Linked DNA regions of Homo sapiens: region 1 is linked to region 2. Evidence: promoter capture Hi-C in 16 types of primary human blood cells and fetal thymus (Javierre and others, 2016). All regions are on one chromosome and are shown on one strand. The core of a region is centred on a gene start or on the middle of the fragment in contact, and the rest is flanking DNA. Distances in the headings are between cores, read along the strand shown.

Region 1 (4,010 bases), core at 1,033-3,532, 1.5 Mb after region 2:
CCTTAGTTTCCTAATCTGCAAAACAAGGTGATACCTATATTGGGGATACCTGTCTCTGAAAAAAAAGCTTGAGCCAGAGGCAAGAACTCTGGGAAATTGGTTTCTCTGCTGCTAGTTGTTTTTGGTATGAGTAGGTGTGTGTCAGGGTACCCAAACAGGGCCTTTATTCTGTCACCCAGGCTGGAGTGCTGCTACTTTTTTAGGGTGTGTGTGAGAGAGAGAGACAGGGTCTCAGTCTGTCGCCCAGACTGGAGTGCAGTGGCACATTCATGGCTCACTGCAGCCTCGAATTCTGGGTTCAAGCGATCCTCCTGCCTCAGCCTCCTGAGGAACCAGGACTACAGGTGCTTGCCACCATACCTGGCTAATTTTTTGCAGAGATAGGGTCTCACTTTGTTTCCCAGACTGGTCTCAAACTCCCCTGGGCTCAAGCGATCTCTGGCCTCTGCCTCCTGAAGTGCTGGGATTACAGGTATAAGTGACCATGCCCAGCCTCTCTGCTACTTTTTTTTTTTTTGAGATGGAGTCTTGCTCTGTCACCCAGGCTGAAGTGCAGTGGCGCAATCTTGGCTTGCAACCTCTGCCTCCTGGGTTCAAGTGATTCTCTTGCCTCAGCCTCCCGAGTAGCTGGGATTACAGGCACCCGCCACCACTCCCAGCTAATTTTTGTATTTTTAGTAGAGACAGGGTTTCACCATGTTGGCCAGGCTGGTCTCGAACTCCTGACCTCAAACAATCCACCTGCCTGGGCCTCCCAAAGTGCTGGGATTACAGGCGTGAGCCACCGCGCTCAGCCTCTTGTATTTCTAAGCTACTAGATGGGGTTTTAGTAACTAGTTTACAAAATAGGACAGATAGGACACAAATAACTATTTGTGACTATTGCTGCATTTATGGCCTGGGATAAGCCCTGATTTCTTTGATTAGTCCTCATTCTGTCAATGACCTCCCCTCTCTGTTCTTCAGGGTTAAAGCACGAATTGGGAGCTCTCAGCGACATCACCAGTCAGCAGCCAAAGACCTAACTCAGTCCCCTGAGGTCTCCCCAACAACCATCCAGGTGACATACCTCCCCTCCAGTCAGAAGAGTAAACGTGCCAAGCACTTCCTTGAATTGAAGAGCTTTAAGGATAACTATAACACATTGGAGAGTACTCTGTGACGGAGCTGAAGGACTCTTGCCGTAGATTAAGCCAGTCAGTTGCAATGTGCAAGACAGGCTGCTTGCCGGGCCGCCCTCGGAACATCTGGCCCAGCAGGCCCAGACTGTATCCATCCAAGTTCCCGTTGTATCCAGAGTTCTTAGAGCTTGTGTCTAAAGGGTAATTCCCCAACCCTTCCTTATGAGCATTTTTAGAACATTGGCTAAGACTATTTTCCCCCAGTAGCGCTTTTTTCTGGATTTGCATTCAGGTGTTATTCTTAATGTTTCTGTCAAAGCTTCTTAAAAATCTTCACTTGGTTTCAGCCATAGTTCACCTTCCCTGTTCCAGGTTTATTTAATTCCAAAGGTGAGAGTTGGAGTGAGATGTCTTCCATATCTATACCTTTGTGCACAGTTGAATGGGAACTGTTTGGGTTTAGGGCATCTTAGAGTTGATTGATGGAAAAAGCAGACAGGAACTGGTGGGAGGTCAAGTGGGGAAGTTGGTGAATGTGGAATAACTTACCTTTGTGCTCCACTTAAACCAGATGTGTTGCAGCTTTCCTGACATGCAAGGATCTACTTTAATTCCACACTCTCATTAATAAATTGAATAAAAGGGAATGTTTTGGCACCTGATATAATCTGCCAGGCTATGTGACAGTAGGAAGGAATGGTTTCCCCTAACAAGCCCAATGCACTGGTCTGACTTTATAAATTATTTAATAAAATGAACTATTATCAAATAAAACGTATGAATCAGTCCTTTATAGTTGTCTTTTAATAAAACAGGCATTTGATAATGTTATCTGCACATTTCTAACAGGGTATAGGGCATGAGGATTTGCCTCCAGAGAATTGGTGGGACTGTGTGCATACCCTGGACCTACGACCATACACATACTCCTTGGGACCCTAGCACAAGAAATCCTAAAATCAGGACTGTGGCCCTTGCTCATAGATGCCTGTGTCACCAACAGAAGGCTGCAGAACAAGGATTCTCTCAAGGTTTCTGGGGCAACAGGCCAGGTGGCCAATCAACTCCTAGGCCCAGGGTTATTGTTGGAGGTGTAAATGTTACTATGACTACTGAAACCTTGGTTACTGAACTAAACAGAGGAGCCTGTCAGTCTCCTCAGACTGTATCAAGCAAATCTATAGACATGTCTGTGGAAAAGATGACAAAAGTAGAAGAGGTATGCAGAGTTGGAAGGAGGGGCTGGGTTGAAGTTTGATGAAGTTTCCAGATCAATTTACTATAAGTGCATCTTTTACTGGGAAAGGCTTTTGATGTAACAAGGGTATAATGTAGTTAGTAACAGGAGTGGGAGGCTGTGTCTAGTACACAGTAGGTATTCAAATATGTGTTCTATCCAACCCCTGCGTGTTTTCTTTGATCCATTCTGAAAGTAGAGCTTTCCTCTCCCTATTTCCCCCCAGGAAATTGCTTTCTCAAAAAGGTCTATGTGGCTGGGTGCGGTGACTCACGCCTGTAATCCTATCACTTTGGGAGGCTGAGGTGGGCGGATCACCTGAGGTCAGGAGTTCGAGACTAGCCTGACCAACATGGAGAAACCCCATCTCTACTAAAAATACAAAATTAGCCCGGCATGGTGGTGCATTCCTATAATCTCAGCTACTCGGAGGCTGAGGCAGGAGAATCGCTTGAACCCGGGAGGCGGAGATTGCGGTGAGCCGAGATCACGCCACTGCACTCTGGCCTGGGCAACAAGAGCAAAACTCTGTCTCAAAAAAAAAAAAGGTCTATGTCTCTCATTAGAATAGAGGTTCTGGAGACTGAGGCAGATCAACAGAACTACCTTTTCTTGCAGAGTTTTCAAAAGGCCATGGGACTTAAGAAGACGGTCGACAGGTAATCTGCTTCTATCCCCTCCCTTTACCTTTGAGCTTGACCTTTCCACTCTGCTGTCTTCCCTGAGCCACCTCCCAACTCTGCTGCATCTCTTTAGGGGCTCATCAAGAGGAAAACAGATGCGGAAGGGGTGAGAAGCAGCCTTGTCCTCAAAGCAAATGAGATCAGCCTCTTAGTGCCTACTAGGTTAGGTGATATAGATTGGTTTTTATTGTCCCCTGCCTCATTCTCTGGAGAAAAATTGAAGCATGTTTTTATTTTCTTTTTTTATCAAGAATTCAAGTATTTGTTGCCTGGCTTTGTACTAATTATGTGGTTGGTAGTGCAGTATTTGTTGAACCAGTGAATGAGAAGATTCACAAGACTGGGCTACGTATCCTTTTCACCCTGATGAACTTTTGAAAAAACTGATGCAGCCGGGCGCGGTGGCTCACGCCTGTAATCCTAGCACTTTGGGAGGCTGAGGCAGGAGGATTGCCTGAGCTCAGGAGTTCAAGACCAGCCTAGGCAACATGGTGAAACCCTGTCTCTACTAAAATACAAAAGAAGTTAGCCAGGCATGGTAGTGTGCGCCTGTAGTCCCAGCTACTCGGGAGGCTGAGGCAGGAGAATTGCTTGAACTTAGGATGCGGAGGGTGCAGTGAGCCAAGATCGCACCACTGCACTCCAGCACTCCAGCCTGGGTGACAGAGCAAGACTCCGTCTCTACAAAAAAAAAAAAAAAAACACTGATGCAAGCCTGGCATGGTGGTTCACACCTATAATCCCAGCACCTTGGGAGGCCGAGGCAGGGGGATTGCTTGAGCCCAGGAGCTCGAGACCAGCCTGGGCAACATAGGAAAACCCTGTCTCTACCAAAAAAATTAAAATTAGCTAGGTGTGGTGGTGCATGCCTGTAGTCTCAGCCACTCAGGAGACTGAAGCAGGAGGATCAGTTGAGCTCAGGTCAAGTGATGCCACCACTGCATTCTAGCCTGGGTGAGAGAGGAAAAC
Region 2 (4,228 bases), core at 488-2,987:
TGCAGTGTGATGGCGTGATCTCGGCTAACTTTGCAACCTCTTCCTCAATCCTCCTGCTTCAGCCTCCCAAGTAGCTCAGACTACAAGCGTGTGCCACACCTGTCTAATTTTTGTGTCTTTTTGTAGAGATGGGGTTTCACCGTGTTGCCTAAGCTGGTCTCGAACTCCTAGGCTCAAGCAATGCGCCCTCCTCCGCCTCCCAAAGTGCTGAGATTACAGGTGTGAGCCACTGCGCCCAGCCTAATGTCTTCTTTCTGTTACAGGATCCAGTAGAAGATTCCACATCTGGAGATCTTTTCCTTTCTTTATATCTATCACCGACATTACCTACTCTTTAAAAATTTTGTAAAAGGCATAAATTTGAAAAATATATCCTCATTAATCTAAATCAAGTCATTGATACAACTATTTAACAAGACGCCCGGCCTGCTTTGTTTTATTAACGACTTGGAGGGACAGAACACTACCCATTACACCCACAAACGTTATCGACATCAACAGAACTGTAAATGACAACACGGCAATACTCTGCACCTTCCCTATGCCTAGGAGCTAATTCCACTTTACATATATTATTATTTCGTGTGTGTGTGTGTGTGTGTGACGGAGTCTCGCTTTGTCGCCAGGCTGGAGTGCAGTGGCGCGATCTCGGCTCACTGCAACTTCCGCCGCCCGGGTTCAAGCAATTCTCCTGCCTCAGCCTCCCGAGTAGCTGGGGCTACAGGCGCCCGCCACCACGGCCGGCTAATATTTGTATTTTTAGTAGAGACGGGGTTTCACCATGTTGGCCAGGATTGTCTCGATCTCTTCACCTTGTCATCCACCTGCCTCGGCCTCCCAAAGTGCTGGGATTACAGGCGTGAGCCACCGCGCCCAGCCCTATCTTATTATTTCACACACCAACCCTGGAGGCATGTTTGGAGTTGCCTAATTTTTATGTACACTTTTTGATAAGGAACTAACAAAAATAACTTGCTGAAGACAAGGGAAACTGAGTCCAGAACTGAATGAGAAGCACATGGTTTCTTCATCCTCCATCACCAGGCTGTCTAACGAGGCTGAAGTACCATCCATGAGTAAGTGCGTCAAGGGCAAACAAACATCATCGCATATGGACAGTGGTGTGAAATTCGAGAAATCCGAGGAGGGTTAACAACAACAAAAAGCACACCACCACGCCGAACTTCCTCGGGTCCCAGGTTGGCAACTCAACGCCCGGGAGGAATCCCCCCCGGAGGCGCGCCGGTCTACCGGCCTCACTCCCTACCTCCTGGAGGTCCGGAGTCCCGCTCCTTTCCCTCAGCGGTACAATACCCGTGTCGGTCCATTCCCTCACCGTGAGTCGAGGACTAGTTCTCCAGACTAGGCGACCGACACACGCTGCCTGGGGCCGGCTCCAAAGCGCCCGTCCTGAGACTGCAAAAAAGGGTCGGGTCATCCGGCAGGAAACGACTCAACGCGCAGCCGCCGCGGCCTCCAACCACCGGCCGGCAGAGGGGCGCTAGGCCGCCCTCGATCCCCTCGCCGCGGTCCCATGGAGGAGGAGGCGAGCCGCAGCGCCGCGGCGACGAACCCAGGGAGGTAGGTTGTCATGGGACTCGGCCGGCCACCCTGGCAATTCCAGTCAAACGGCAAGCCAGACTCGCTTTGCCGGTCCCTTCCTCTCCTGCCCCTGCAGCCGCCAGGAATGGAACAGTCCCGCGGTGGGGACTGTGGGAGGCGCACGCGCGAGGAGTGTAGGGTGGGGGTGCTGGCGGCGGCTGCTTTGGCGGCGGTTGGTGGCCGTGCGGGCGGGGAGGGAGGGGGAGGAGAGAAGAGGAGGTGGAGAAGGCTTGGGCTCGCGCCGCTGAAGGTACGCGTGAGGGCCTGCGCTGGAGCCGGCTTGACAGGGTCTGAGGGGGAGTGGAGAACTGGGCGAGGAGGTTCCCGTGGGTGAGCGCGTACGGGATGGCTGGCTCGCAGGACGGCCGAAGGTGGTGGTTGGTGGGAGCAGCCAGCGACGAGCCCGTAGACACTCGTACGCGTGCGGGCTGACGTGCGCGCTACATGGCCGGAGTCGGGCGAAGCGGGGGACCGTGGGGAAGAACGCGAGGAGGGAGGAGTGGGAGGTTGGGGGTGTCGCTAGGCGCCCTTAGCTCCCTCCCTCTGGAGGAGCTGCCGCGGCCACTCTGCTGCCGCCGCTGCCGCCGCCATTTTGGGTTCGCTTTGCGAGGGGAAACGATCCCAGTGTCGGTTGCGGGATCCGCCTCCTCTCAGTTTGCCCCTTTAGCCCTCCACCTTTCCCTTCTCCTCTCTCGCATTTCCGCCAGTCGGCTTACCCGCTGGCCGCCTCCTGACAAGCGGGAGGGATCCGCGGTGGACCCAGGGAAGCGGAGGAGCCTGGCGGCCACCCCCTCTTCCTCACTTCCCTGTACTCTCATCGCTCTCGGCCTCCGACACGGTGAGTAGAACGATTTGGGCCGGCATTCGGGCCTAAGCACTCTCTCAGCGATTGAATCCTGGGCTTTCTGGGAGCCACTGTCATCTCCCGGACCTGGACCTCTGGGAGAGCAGTGGTGAAGATGGGGGAGGGGAGAGCAGGGAGGGGGATCCTGAGCCTACCGGGAAGTCCCTCCAGGCGGGGTGAAGGGGTGTCCCTGACAGGCAGACTCCCGGAGGGGGCTGGGAAGTAAGCGAGTGGAGGCGGAGTCGGCTGTGCCCCTGACAGGTTAGTTTGTGTTTGTAGGCATGATCGGAGCCTCCCCCATAGTCCAGTTTGTGTGTGTTTAATTAAGGGATAAGAGTGGTCGAGGACACGATCTTGAGAGGGGATTTTACCTGTGTGACAAGGTCTGTGGTGTCCCTGCCGCGTTGAACGGTATGTGGGAACGACAGGATGATCTCAGTGTTGTACGTTTAATAAATGTCACTGGTTAGTTTGTACATGGAAAGAGATGTTTTTGGTCTAGCAGACAGATGGTCTGTTGGTGTGTAGCGGCTGTGTTGGTGTGTGTATGTGAGGATGGCAAGTGTTTCCGTAAGAGTTTGCCTTTATTTGTGTAAGTGTAATGGAGTTCCCCTTATAAGTTAGCTTATTTCTTGAATAAATGTTGGGAGGTTCCTTGCAGGTTGATATGTGTGTGTATTTTAGGGATTGGGAGCCCCTAGTTACTTGTTGGGAAAGAGCGGCAATGGTAGTGTTCTGTACAGCATGTGTCTGTGAGGTCAGGGAGGGGAGAAACTTGGCATAGCCAGTTGTGGTCTTAAGAATAGTTTGTGCCTTTGGTTAGAGTGAGTTGTGTAAATGTGAAGGGCCAAAATATCTTTAACAGAATCATTGCTACAAAGCTGTAAAGAATGGGTGGCCTTATTTGTTGTCGCGGGTTTATAGTAATAGTTTACAATACAATAAGAAAGCTCTTTCAGTTTCTTTGTGATACTGAATCTCTGTGAAAATGGTAGGATGCTTTCTTCCATTTTACAAAATAGGAAATTTAGGCATAAGGAGAGAACTTCTCCAAGGCCGCATGTTAAATTGGTGACAAAGTTGGAACTGTAACTCCCATATTTTCACTACTACTGCAGCAGTATATTCAGCATACCATGGTGCCTCAGGAAGTCTTTGTCGGCAAATCTGAGTATGCTGGAAAGATAGGAGCACATAAGACTGGTTGGCTTGTATTTGGGGGAGACCGATTGTGTCAGATATGTATGTGGAACGTAGCTGTCCTTGCCGAGTCTGACCTGTATGAAATGCATATCCATGGCTATATTATTTTGGATTTATGGAGGAAGCAGAGCATTTCTGACACTTAAGGTTGTATGCGTGAGGGAGAAGGCTTTCACAGCTTAACTTGTACCAGAGCAGCTGCATGGGTGCTGACAGCTTAACTTGAAATCTGTGGGAGGAAGGATCCTTTTTCACTCATTCAACAAATATAACCATTCAATGAATGGTCCATGCCTTGAGGTGAGGATCATCAAGGTGTCTCTGTAAATAGCCTGGATGCAATCTGAGGGGAGTTGTTTTGACGGTGGTAGGTATTAAGTTGAGGGAGGCAGTGTGGAATTAAAACCAGAGAACTGTTTTTGGGTACTGGTAATTGTTAATATATGTGCCTGTGGATGTTGGAACTTCTTGGCTGGGCTGAAGGAATCCTTTGAAAGACTGATTTCGGCAGGGCGCGGTGGCTCACACCTGTAATCCCAGCACTTTGGGAGGCCGAGGTGGGCGGATCACGAGGTCAGG

The links. The method cuts DNA at HindIII sites, captures the fragments that hold promoters and counts their contacts. A CHiCAGO score of 5 or more calls a contact.
Region 1: a contact is called between the fragment with the promoter of CFAP141 here and the fragment with the promoter of YY1AP1 in region 2, in 1 of 17 cell types (neutrophils). The highest score is 5.1, in neutrophils.

What each region holds. Positions count from the first base shown.
Region 1 is chr1:154,204,605-154,208,614 of GRCh38, reverse strand. CFAP141 (cilia and flagella associated protein 141) reads left to right here and starts at 2,282. Exons shown (of 4, transcript NM_001010979.3): 1 at 2,282-2,340; 2 at 2,977-3,017. The coding sequence starts at 2,308. It overlaps LTAP1 (lipid transport auxiliary protein 1), which reads left to right. Exons shown (of 7, transcript NM_001098616.3): 7 at 967-1,895. The coding sequence ends at 1,162. The HindIII fragment of the contact is 7,725 bases long and covers 1,443-4,010 here.
Region 2 is chr1:155,686,283-155,690,510 of GRCh38, reverse strand. It overlaps YY1AP1 (YY1 associated protein 1), which reads left to right and starts at 1,737. Exons shown (of 11, transcript NM_139119.3): 1 at 1,737-1,852; 2 at 2,310-2,440. It overlaps DAP3 (death associated protein 3), which reads right to left and starts at 1,420. Exons shown (of 13, transcript NM_004632.4): 1 at 1,337-1,420. It also overlaps the pseudogene LOC124904430. RefSeq lists enhancers at 1,272-1,321, 1,697-2,331 and a silencer at 1,812-1,861. The HindIII fragment of the contact is 12,603 bases long and covers 1-4,228 here.